Linked DNA regions of Homo sapiens: region 2 is linked to region 1. Evidence: promoter capture Hi-C in human tissues and cell types (Jung and others, 2019). All regions are on one chromosome and are shown on one strand. Each heading gives the region's core, a stretch centred on a gene start or on the middle of the fragment in contact. The rest is flanking DNA. Distances are from core to core; before and after follow the strand shown. Region 1 holds the start of RELN (reelin). Region 2 holds the start of SLC26A5 (solute carrier family 26 member 5).

Evidence for each region. The method cuts DNA at HindIII sites, captures the fragments that hold promoters and counts their contacts. A contact is called where the count stands out against the background at its distance.
Region 2: a contact is called between the fragment with the promoter of SLC26A5 here and the fragment with the promoter of RELN in region 1, in 2 of the 25 tissues and cell types used here (mesendoderm cells and thymus).

The regions. Positions count from the first base shown.
Region 1 is chr7:103,988,276-103,992,513 of GRCh38, reverse strand. RELN (reelin) reads left to right here and starts at 2,856. Exons shown (of 65, transcript NM_005045.4): 1 at 2,856-3,383. The coding sequence starts at 3,158. The HindIII fragment of the contact is 8,012 bases long and covers 1-4,238 here.
Region 2 is chr7:103,443,305-103,447,808 of GRCh38, reverse strand. It overlaps SLC26A5 (solute carrier family 26 member 5), which reads left to right and starts at 1,602. Exons shown (of 20, transcript NM_198999.3): 1 at 1,602-1,711. It overlaps SLC26A5-AS1 (SLC26A5 antisense RNA 1), which reads right to left and starts at 2,602. Exons shown (of 4, transcript NR_110141.1): 1 at 1,290-2,602; 2 at 1,141-1,192. RefSeq lists a silencer at 1,527-1,596 and an enhancer at 1,653-2,229. The HindIII fragment of the contact is 9,476 bases long and covers 1-4,504 here.

The DNA of each region.
Region 1 (4,238 bases), core at 1,607-4,106:
CCTTATTGCGTGATTTCAAGTAAGTTGCTCACTAAGAAGATGCTACTCTCGGTTCAATGGATTTTATATATGATTTATGTATTTTTCTGATTTTCTAAAGGTTATTTAAAAGTTTTTAATGACTAGTTGAACTGGCCTAATCAAAAAAAGTGTCAGAGATGAAACAAATATGAACTTGAGCCTCTACAAGGTATTCATGTTAGTTCTAAGGACTGCAGACTGGAGTGTACCAACTTTTACTCCCCTCTTGACCAGCTCAACACCACTCAGGACATTATTTAAAAACAGTCTTTGTGTCTGTTACTGAACAACTGCAGGGCTGTAGCCAGAAATATGAGCTTGCTTCATGGCTAACAGTATAAAAGTTATTCAAATGTAATAGCAAAGCAAAGTGGTAAAAATTAAGGAAGCACAATAAAGGGGAAGATTGAAAAATAAACTTGGTCACATAAATTGAATGTTAAGAAAGCCATGTCGAGAGATACGAGAAAGAATATTTCTCTGAGAGTGCACTACACAATGGAAAGAAGGGGACTTCCTGGGAATTGAGGACCTTATATGAATTAAATTCCAATCATGTCCTGGACCAAGTGTCAGCGCTTACTAAAGACAGTTTATTTAAGCAGCGACCTTGGCATCAAGCATGGCCAGACTTGATCCCAAGCTCCTTTAACTTCTATGAATCTCAACTTTCTTCTCTTTAAAAATGAAGATAATTATACCTACTTTGCAGGCTAATATAAGGATTAAATGAGGTATTCTGACACTGGATGAAGAATAATTATTCCCCCATCCCTCTAACAACACCAACATGCATTCTTTAGAGGCGATTTGCAGTGGTTAGTGTGTCAAAATCAGACTGCCTGGGTTCAAGTCACAGCACTCACTAGCTGTGTGACCTTGGACAAGTTACTTAACCTCCCTGTGCTGTTTCATCATAGTAAAATGAAGCTATCAATGGTACTTTTCCCACAGTATTGTTATGAGGAATAAGGGAGTTAGTATGTATAGTACTTAGGACGGTGCTCAGTGCATAGTAACTAAACATTTTAAAAGTGTAAGCCAAAAACATTAAATAGTTTTGGATTCTTTCTACAAGTGATTAATTTTGTCTTTGGCTATATTCACATGACTGGACAGGAAGGCAGTAACAGCCTTGTTAGCTGTGGGCGAGTATCTCCTAATTCTGTTTGGGGCAACACCACCTGCTCCAGCTAGGGCTGTCGACTGTGGCAGGGCAGTGCAGGACAAGAGCCTCTGAGGCCAGCCAGTCTGCCCTGCATCCAGCCTTTGTCACTGACTTTGGGCAAGTTATCAACATTTCTGAGTGCCTCCTCCCTTGTGAAATAGGGATATTTTTTGCCTCTCCAGTTGGTGTTAGGATTAAAAAGCTAAAGTACGTCTAGCCCCACAGCCTGCACCCCGCAGAGCTACAGTGTAGCAATTGTTACCACATCATATATATATATATGCACATACATATATGTATACACTGTATATTATTTATATGGCAGTTAAGCCTCTGGGGATTTTGAAGTAAGGGAAACAAGAAGCCAGCTAGAAATGGGCCCTTTCTACCTGTCATTCGGTCTCAGTAAGAGGAAGAAAAACAATTTCTTCCTTTTGCAACGAAGTGATTACAGAGGTCTCCCCTTGGACCCTGATTTTCACCGCCCCTCGCCCCACAAATGCAGGCAAAGGCACTATCCCTTCCAATTTTATAATCTACTCATTTCTGTACGTGCGGGTTTATCTGGCTTGGTGGCAAGCCAAGGGTGGGTGGGGAGAGGCATTAAAACCTGGCAACCCCGCTCCCCCATCTCCGGATGCCGCAGGGCTCCTGCCAGCCGTCCTCGGTTAAAAACGTGCTTATGGATTATTTCACTTCCCTGCAGTTCATGTGCAGCCGCTCATTACCACCCGCTTCAATCACCGCTGCCAGCATCTCCCCTGAACGTTTTTCCCTCCCCCGATTTCAGGGCCATTGGTCATAACCGACATTTAAAGGAAATAAACACTGATTTAAAAAATTACAACACCCATCTCTGCCTGAAGAGCCCAGAAGCAATGAATAACAGAACAGTCCGGCGAAGAGAGCCTGTCGGATCTTAGCTCCGCCAGCCCTTCCTGCCTTACAATTCCCCACAACCGAGCAGCACAAATCACCATTTCCAGGCACCACTCGAGTCTGCCAATTCCACTTTCGCTTAATCTCATTTTAAAATCCTCTACAGATGAGGCTCTGTCGCTGCCGCGAGGGGCCGGGCGGCCGCGGCGGGAGGGACAGGGGGCCTGGGTGGGAAGGGAGCGCGAGGGCCCCTAGCGGTTCGCGGCCTCGGGCGGATTCCCAGAACGAGTGCGGGCCGCCCGGACTGGCAGACTGCGAGCCCCGAGGGGCGCGGGACGCAGCCGGCTCAGACAAAGAAACCGGCGCCAGCGGCCGTCCCTGCCGCCCCTCTCCTTCCCTCACGCATCCTCCCAGGAAAAACAGGGCACACTGACGGCCAAAGGGGCTGGCCTTCCCCTTCAGACAGCTGGACGGGAGGTGCCCTCTGCGGGGCTTTGACGTCCCTCGCAGAAGAGTCGCGGGCTCAGCGGTCCTCGACAGCGTCCCCGTCCCGCTCCCCGGCGGGCGCCCCTCCCTGTCCTCCCGGGTGCGAACCGGGCGCTGGCCGGGGACTCCGGGGACGCGTGCGCCCCTCGCCGCGCGAGGTGCCGCCGAGCCAGCCCGAGAGGGCGGGGGGCGGGCGGGGCGGCGCGCGGGGGCGGGGGAGCGGCCGGGACACGTGTGGCGGCGGCGGGGGGGACGCGGCGCCCGGGGCTTTAAGAAGGTGTGGAGCGGGGCGGGCGCTTTCCCAGGCCTGGCCGAGGGGCGTCGCGCAGAGGCGGCGGCGGCGCACGGAGGCGGCAGACGACGCGCTCTCGGCGCCCGCAGCCCCGGTCCCGCGCTCCCGCGGCCCAAAGTAACTTTGGGAGCCGCCGTCTCCCGCGGAACTTCTCGGCGGGGGCCCGCTCCCAGGCCCGCTCCCGAGCCCGTTCCGCTCCCGTCCGCCTTCTTCTCGCCTTCTCTCCGCGTGGCTCCTCCGTCCCGGCGTCTCCAAAACTGAATGAGCGAGCGGCGCGTAGGGCGCGCGGCGGCGGCGGCGGCGGCGGCGGCATGGAGCGCAGTGGCTGGGCCCGGCAGACTTTCCTCCTAGCGCTGTTGCTGGGGGCGACGCTGAGGGCGCGCGCGGCGGCTGGCTATTACCCCCGCTTTTCGCCCTTCTTTTTCCTGTGCACCCACCACGGGGAGCTGGAAGGGGATGGGGAGCAGGGCGAGGTGCTCATTTCCCTGCATATTGCGGGCAACCCCACCTACTACGTTCCGGGACAAGAATACCATGGTAGGTACCGCAGCACCTCCGCGCTCGCCGCCGCCGGGTGCGCCCGCCAGCGCACCTTTCTCATCCCTTTCCTTCTTCCAAGGGGCCTTGGAAACAAGAACCATGACAACCCTGGCCCCAGCGATGCGCTTGGTCCAGGGAGCGAGAATAAAGTTAGTGGAGAATGGAGTCACAAGTTGGGATTCATTCTCCATGTCCCCACTCCCCGAACGCATCTCCTGGTAATGAGCTGGTGCTTGTGCTAAACGCCTGAGAATTCTTGGAGGCCGGTGTCTTTCCCCCTCACTCCCCGTACTTACCGCAGGCACTTTAAATTGAACCTGCGCATTTTGTTTCTTTACTCCTAGGACTTGGATTTCAGACCTTTGTCCTGCTCCCGGTCCCCCCAGATGGGTCCCCGGGGGGGCGTTGGGGGCTGTCGCTGGGCTTTGCGGGCAGGCTGGTGACAGATTGAAGCGCCCAGGTCTGTGGCTGCCCCGCGCCGCTCGACCGCAAAGTTCCCGCTGCTCACCAGCCAGGAGTCCCTGGCATTTCATTCAGTGTCATACAGCCCTCCTGAAAGGGAGCGGCTGCTTCCAGCTCCCTATTCTTTTGAAAGTGTGATTTAATATGTCAGTAATTGATGATTTTTCTGATTCCTGCCTTACTTTTACATGGTGCTTCTTGTTAGAATTATCTTTGTGATGTTTATTAATGACTTTGTATTTTATCTGCACAGCTTTAATTTCCAGGTAGAGGCTGGAATCCCTTATAATTTAGAGGTATCTTAAAAATGGAATCATTATGCAGCCCTGCATCAAAAATAAACATTACAGAAGAAATAAAATTTAGCTCCAAGAAATATAATATTATGTA
Region 2 (4,504 bases), core at 353-2,852, 540 kb after region 1:
CAGGTGTTAGCAACATTGCCATTATTGTGTTAGTATATTAGGTACCTGGTGCTACCGGCAAAACCAGTTTATCATCCAACTGTCTCCAGTGTTGCTACTCAAAGTTTGGTCCTCCAGTAGCCTATCAGGATCACCCAGGGGCCTGTTAGAAAGGCACATCTCAGACCCCACCCCAGACCTACTGAATCAGAATCTGCGTTTTTAACGGGATCCGCAGGTGATTCCTATGCACATTAAAGTGTAAGAAGTACTGGGCTACAGACAGGTATGTGACAAAATAATTTCATAGGATGGCAAAGGCCAAGTGGCAAATGAAGGACACCAGAAATGCACGTCCCAGGAGCCCAACTCCTCCTTAGTAAATTACCCTATTAAGATTTGTTTAGAGATGTTCAAAAGCGTGGAGAAAAGCAAATTTGGTTTCCTCAGCTAGGGACGCGGAGAGTGGTCTGGTGCCCTTGAAGAGATCGCCCTCGTGTGGAGTAGGGAGGGAATCTCTAGCCTTTCCTCTCGGATGAAGAACAGCACCAGCGCTCCCAGCCAAAGGCCTGGCCCAGGTTCTGGAGGTGGGGTCTCCTTGGCAGAAGCCTCTGGTGTCTGCAGGCGTGCATTTACAGCTTTAAGACCAAACAGCTAGTCCGCCACGTGTCACTACAGTGTGCACGCGCAGAAATGCACAAAGCAAAAAAAAAAAAAAAGATGCTCTTAATGAACCAACTATAATCCTTGCTAAGGCATAAAGCCAGAGGGAAGTATGTATCTGAAATCATTTTCTACCCCTCACCCTCTTGGAGCCCGGCACTCTGGCTGCGGTGCTCTCTTGTATCCCAGTTGCTAGATGCAAAACAAGCTATTTCCTATCTAATTTTTTTTTTTAAGAGACGGAGTCTCGCTTTGTTGCCCAGGCTGGTCTCAAACTCCTGGACTCAAGCAATTCTCCCAGCTTGGGGTAACGTGTTACATTATTCTACTTAATAAAAAGCAAAAGTTGTTTTATAAATTCTAACTTAAATGCCCAGAAAATAACTTATCATGCATTGCCTTGTCGTGCAATAGTCAATATTTGCAAACCAAGTGTTAACCAAAGGCAGTTCATCAAAGATTTTTGAAAATTAAAAAAAAAAAAAAACTCATACTCACATTGTCCTCAGGATTTCCTGTTTTCGAAATGTTCCTGTACGAATCGGAGTCTCTATAATGATTGTAATTGAAAAGATAAGTCAGGTTTTTTGTGTTTTTTTTTCATTTTAAAATCATAATACGCAATGTTTTCCACTTGAACGCTATACCTTGTGTATTGTGCTTGCTTCAGCCTCGAGCCTCTACTGATGTTCCACCTCAAGGCGACAGGAATGCCACCTGGAGAAACTCCTGGGCGGTATGGGAAGAAAGCCGGTCTCATCAGAGTATATTTGCGGGGATCGACGACCAAGGTGTTAAATTCCAAGCACGCTTTGGAAAGTTCTAGGTGCTTGGGAAGAGATCCGTAGGCGGCAGGGATGCCCGCGCCCCGGCGTCCCAGCGCGGAGGGTGGCGGCGGGGCCTGGCCCTAGCGGGGCGGGGCGGGCTCGGGTTACCGGGAGTCGCGGGGCGCGGCCGGCACTGCCCGCGGCGCCTCCTCCTAGAGCCGCACCTGGAGGCAGCGCGCGCGTCGAAGAGGCAGCGGCTGTGGAGCGCGGCGGGGCGGCTCCGCCCAGGGCAGCCCGGGCTGGTGAGTGCGCGCGGGCGGCCGCGGGGCCGGGGGTCGCGGTCCCTCGGGAGGGGACTGAGCTGAGGCCCGCGGGCCCACCCGAGCAGGGGCCCTCGCTGTCACCGCCTCTGCCCCTGTCTCCCAGGCCCCATGTCGCGCTTTTTCCCTAAACGAACCGGTGACAGGGCTGACCTGCCCGCACTCTGCTGGTCCCTACGCCGGGAAGGAGAAAGTCTCACGAAGCTCTTTCCTTTGCAACCCCTGTCCCCTTGCCCTCTGCAGCTCCACACAGCATTTTTACTTCCCGTTTGCCTCCTCGAATCCCTTCGGTGCTAATCCAGCCCTTCGCCGTTTCCAGTTTGGGTCTGGCCTGTTTGTATCCAAATCGAATTACACAAAACCAGGCCCTCAGTTCTGCCTCTGGCCCTCTTTCCGGAGACGGGCCCTGCCTCCTCCTGTGCCGGGCTGGGCTTGCCCGGCATTGGCCGCCCGGAGCTCCCAGGGAGCAAGGCTGTGGTCCCGAAACTGGGCCCTCCGCTCAGCGCCGGGCAAGGCTCAAACCCCGGGTCTCTGACTTATCCGGTCACGAAGGGACTGCTCAGAGCCTAACAGCCCTAAAATTTGGTATTGGCCCCCTCCCGGGAAATCCTTCTCCCTACCAATCAGGCATCGCGGCAGGTGCTCTGCCATCATAGAGGCTCTGACACGCTGAACTCTCGAAGCTCGCGGCAGTGTTTATTTTTAGGAGAGATTTAGTTGATCGGGAACCAATTGACTTGGTTGACTGCCTCATCTAGTGCGCACCTGGGCCGGGCCCCGCCGGGAAGGCGTGCTGGACGTTCTCAGTGAGCTCCGAGACCTACAGAAGAAACAGCTGCAAGGATCCGATCAGCTAGCTGTGAAGAAAGCCTCAGATACGCTGTGGGGTGGGCAAAATTCTTTTCCTAGCTTCGATGAGTACTGTGGATTCTAGAATTTAAACAACATTCATGGAGACTCTTAAAACAACAAAAAATATCAACTTTTTGCGGGCACAGACTGAGATTTAGCTTTTTCCTATCTGAAAACTGAACAATGTGCACTAGATATAAATGTATTATCTAAAGTTTAGGAATTTACAGCATAGAAATGCAGGGGAATTCGGAGTATGCAATACGAAGTATCAACCTTTTTGAAAATGAAATTTAAAATGTATTTTTGTCAGGCATTCCTTCTAATTACGGTAGTATTGCTTTGTATCAGAAGACTTTCAGGCAAAGGACAGGAGGGAAGAGAGAGAAATTCAAACTAATTTGCATTAGAAAGAAACTTAGGGTGAAGAATTGCCTAGGTAAGGTTGCTATAGCTCATATCTTAAGTGCACTCTTGGAAAGCTTTCTAGTCTATTAGGTAACACCTGAAGCCCCAATTCTCTTATGTAGCATTTCTTTTTTTCTCTCTTTAACTACTCTGAAACTATACAGAGTTACACGTTCCTCATTAATTTATGAGTGAAACCAAAAGAATTGACTCAATCCAACAAGTATTTGAGTGCTTTTCGCATAGAGGCGCTTTGCTAAGAACAGAAGAATGGAAGACTGAGGAAGTTTCTAACAATCAATGGATTGCCTTGTGAGGTGTAGATGCAGGTGTGCACTGCCTATTTAATTGACGATCAAAGTCAGTTGAGTTTTCATCTCATTCTAAATATCATGTGTTGCCCCCTGGTATCTTAATTTTTCTACCGTTGCAGGTAGTCTGCATTTTAGTAACCCAAGTGAAACAGTTTTCTAGGGAAATCATGATAAATAGGAAGCACGTCCGTATTCCCAGGTGTTCTCATTATCATTAAGTTAATAAAGTTAAGAAAAATAAGATGATGATTTTCCTTTCTTTTGGTTTCAAACTAGTGAAATCTTGCACAAAAGACACAGCATGGATAAATTTAATCATTTTGTGACTCAGAGTACATTTTATGTAAGTCCATTCTGTTGGAGGATAGATCCAATTTCATGAACTCTTTTAATCCTTCTTTTGAAGACTAGTTCCAGGACCAACTTCATAAAATGTTTTATTGTAGGTACCAACAACTATCAACATCATTATCTTCTCCCCACCTTCACCCTTGAAAACAATTGTATTCTAGAGGATTATGAAGGAGGGGACAGGACTCTTTCAAAATCTGGAGGACACTAGGGACTTACCCCAGAAAAAAAATAAAAAAGCTCACCCATTCAAAATCTTGTACACCTTTCAGAGGATTCCTGGTGCCCAGGTTATGAAAGCTCACTTCAGAACGGGTCAGCGAATTAGTCAGAGGATAGGTAGATGGAGGGAAAGGGAAATGAAGCAATGTGGGTAAATTCACAAACTGAGTGGATATGACTTAATTTACTTTCAAATAGAATAAATACATGGCCCCTTGAGTAAGTATTCTGTGAATGGGAAGGAATAATTGTATTCTTTGTAAAAGACTGAAGACAGATTAGCCTAATTAAGTTTTTAATTGATCAAGATCAACTCTTATCTTGAACATTATGAGTCTCTCATTTTTCTACTTTTCTTGCTCTTTTCAAGGCAACTGCTCTAAGAGGATTTGCTCCCACTACTGATGATGCCCCATTCTGGACACAATTTCTCATATGCAAACTTGTATTCATGAATTGCTACATATGGGAATGGCTGAGTTCAAAAATTGAACTATATCTTTCTCACATCCTAGCAGTTCACCCTTAGGAAGAAGATATAATTATATATAATTAGTCTATCGCATGTAAGCCACTGTGATAGCAGTAGCTGTGCCTTGGAAGGGAGTGGGTTGGTATTAGGAATGAA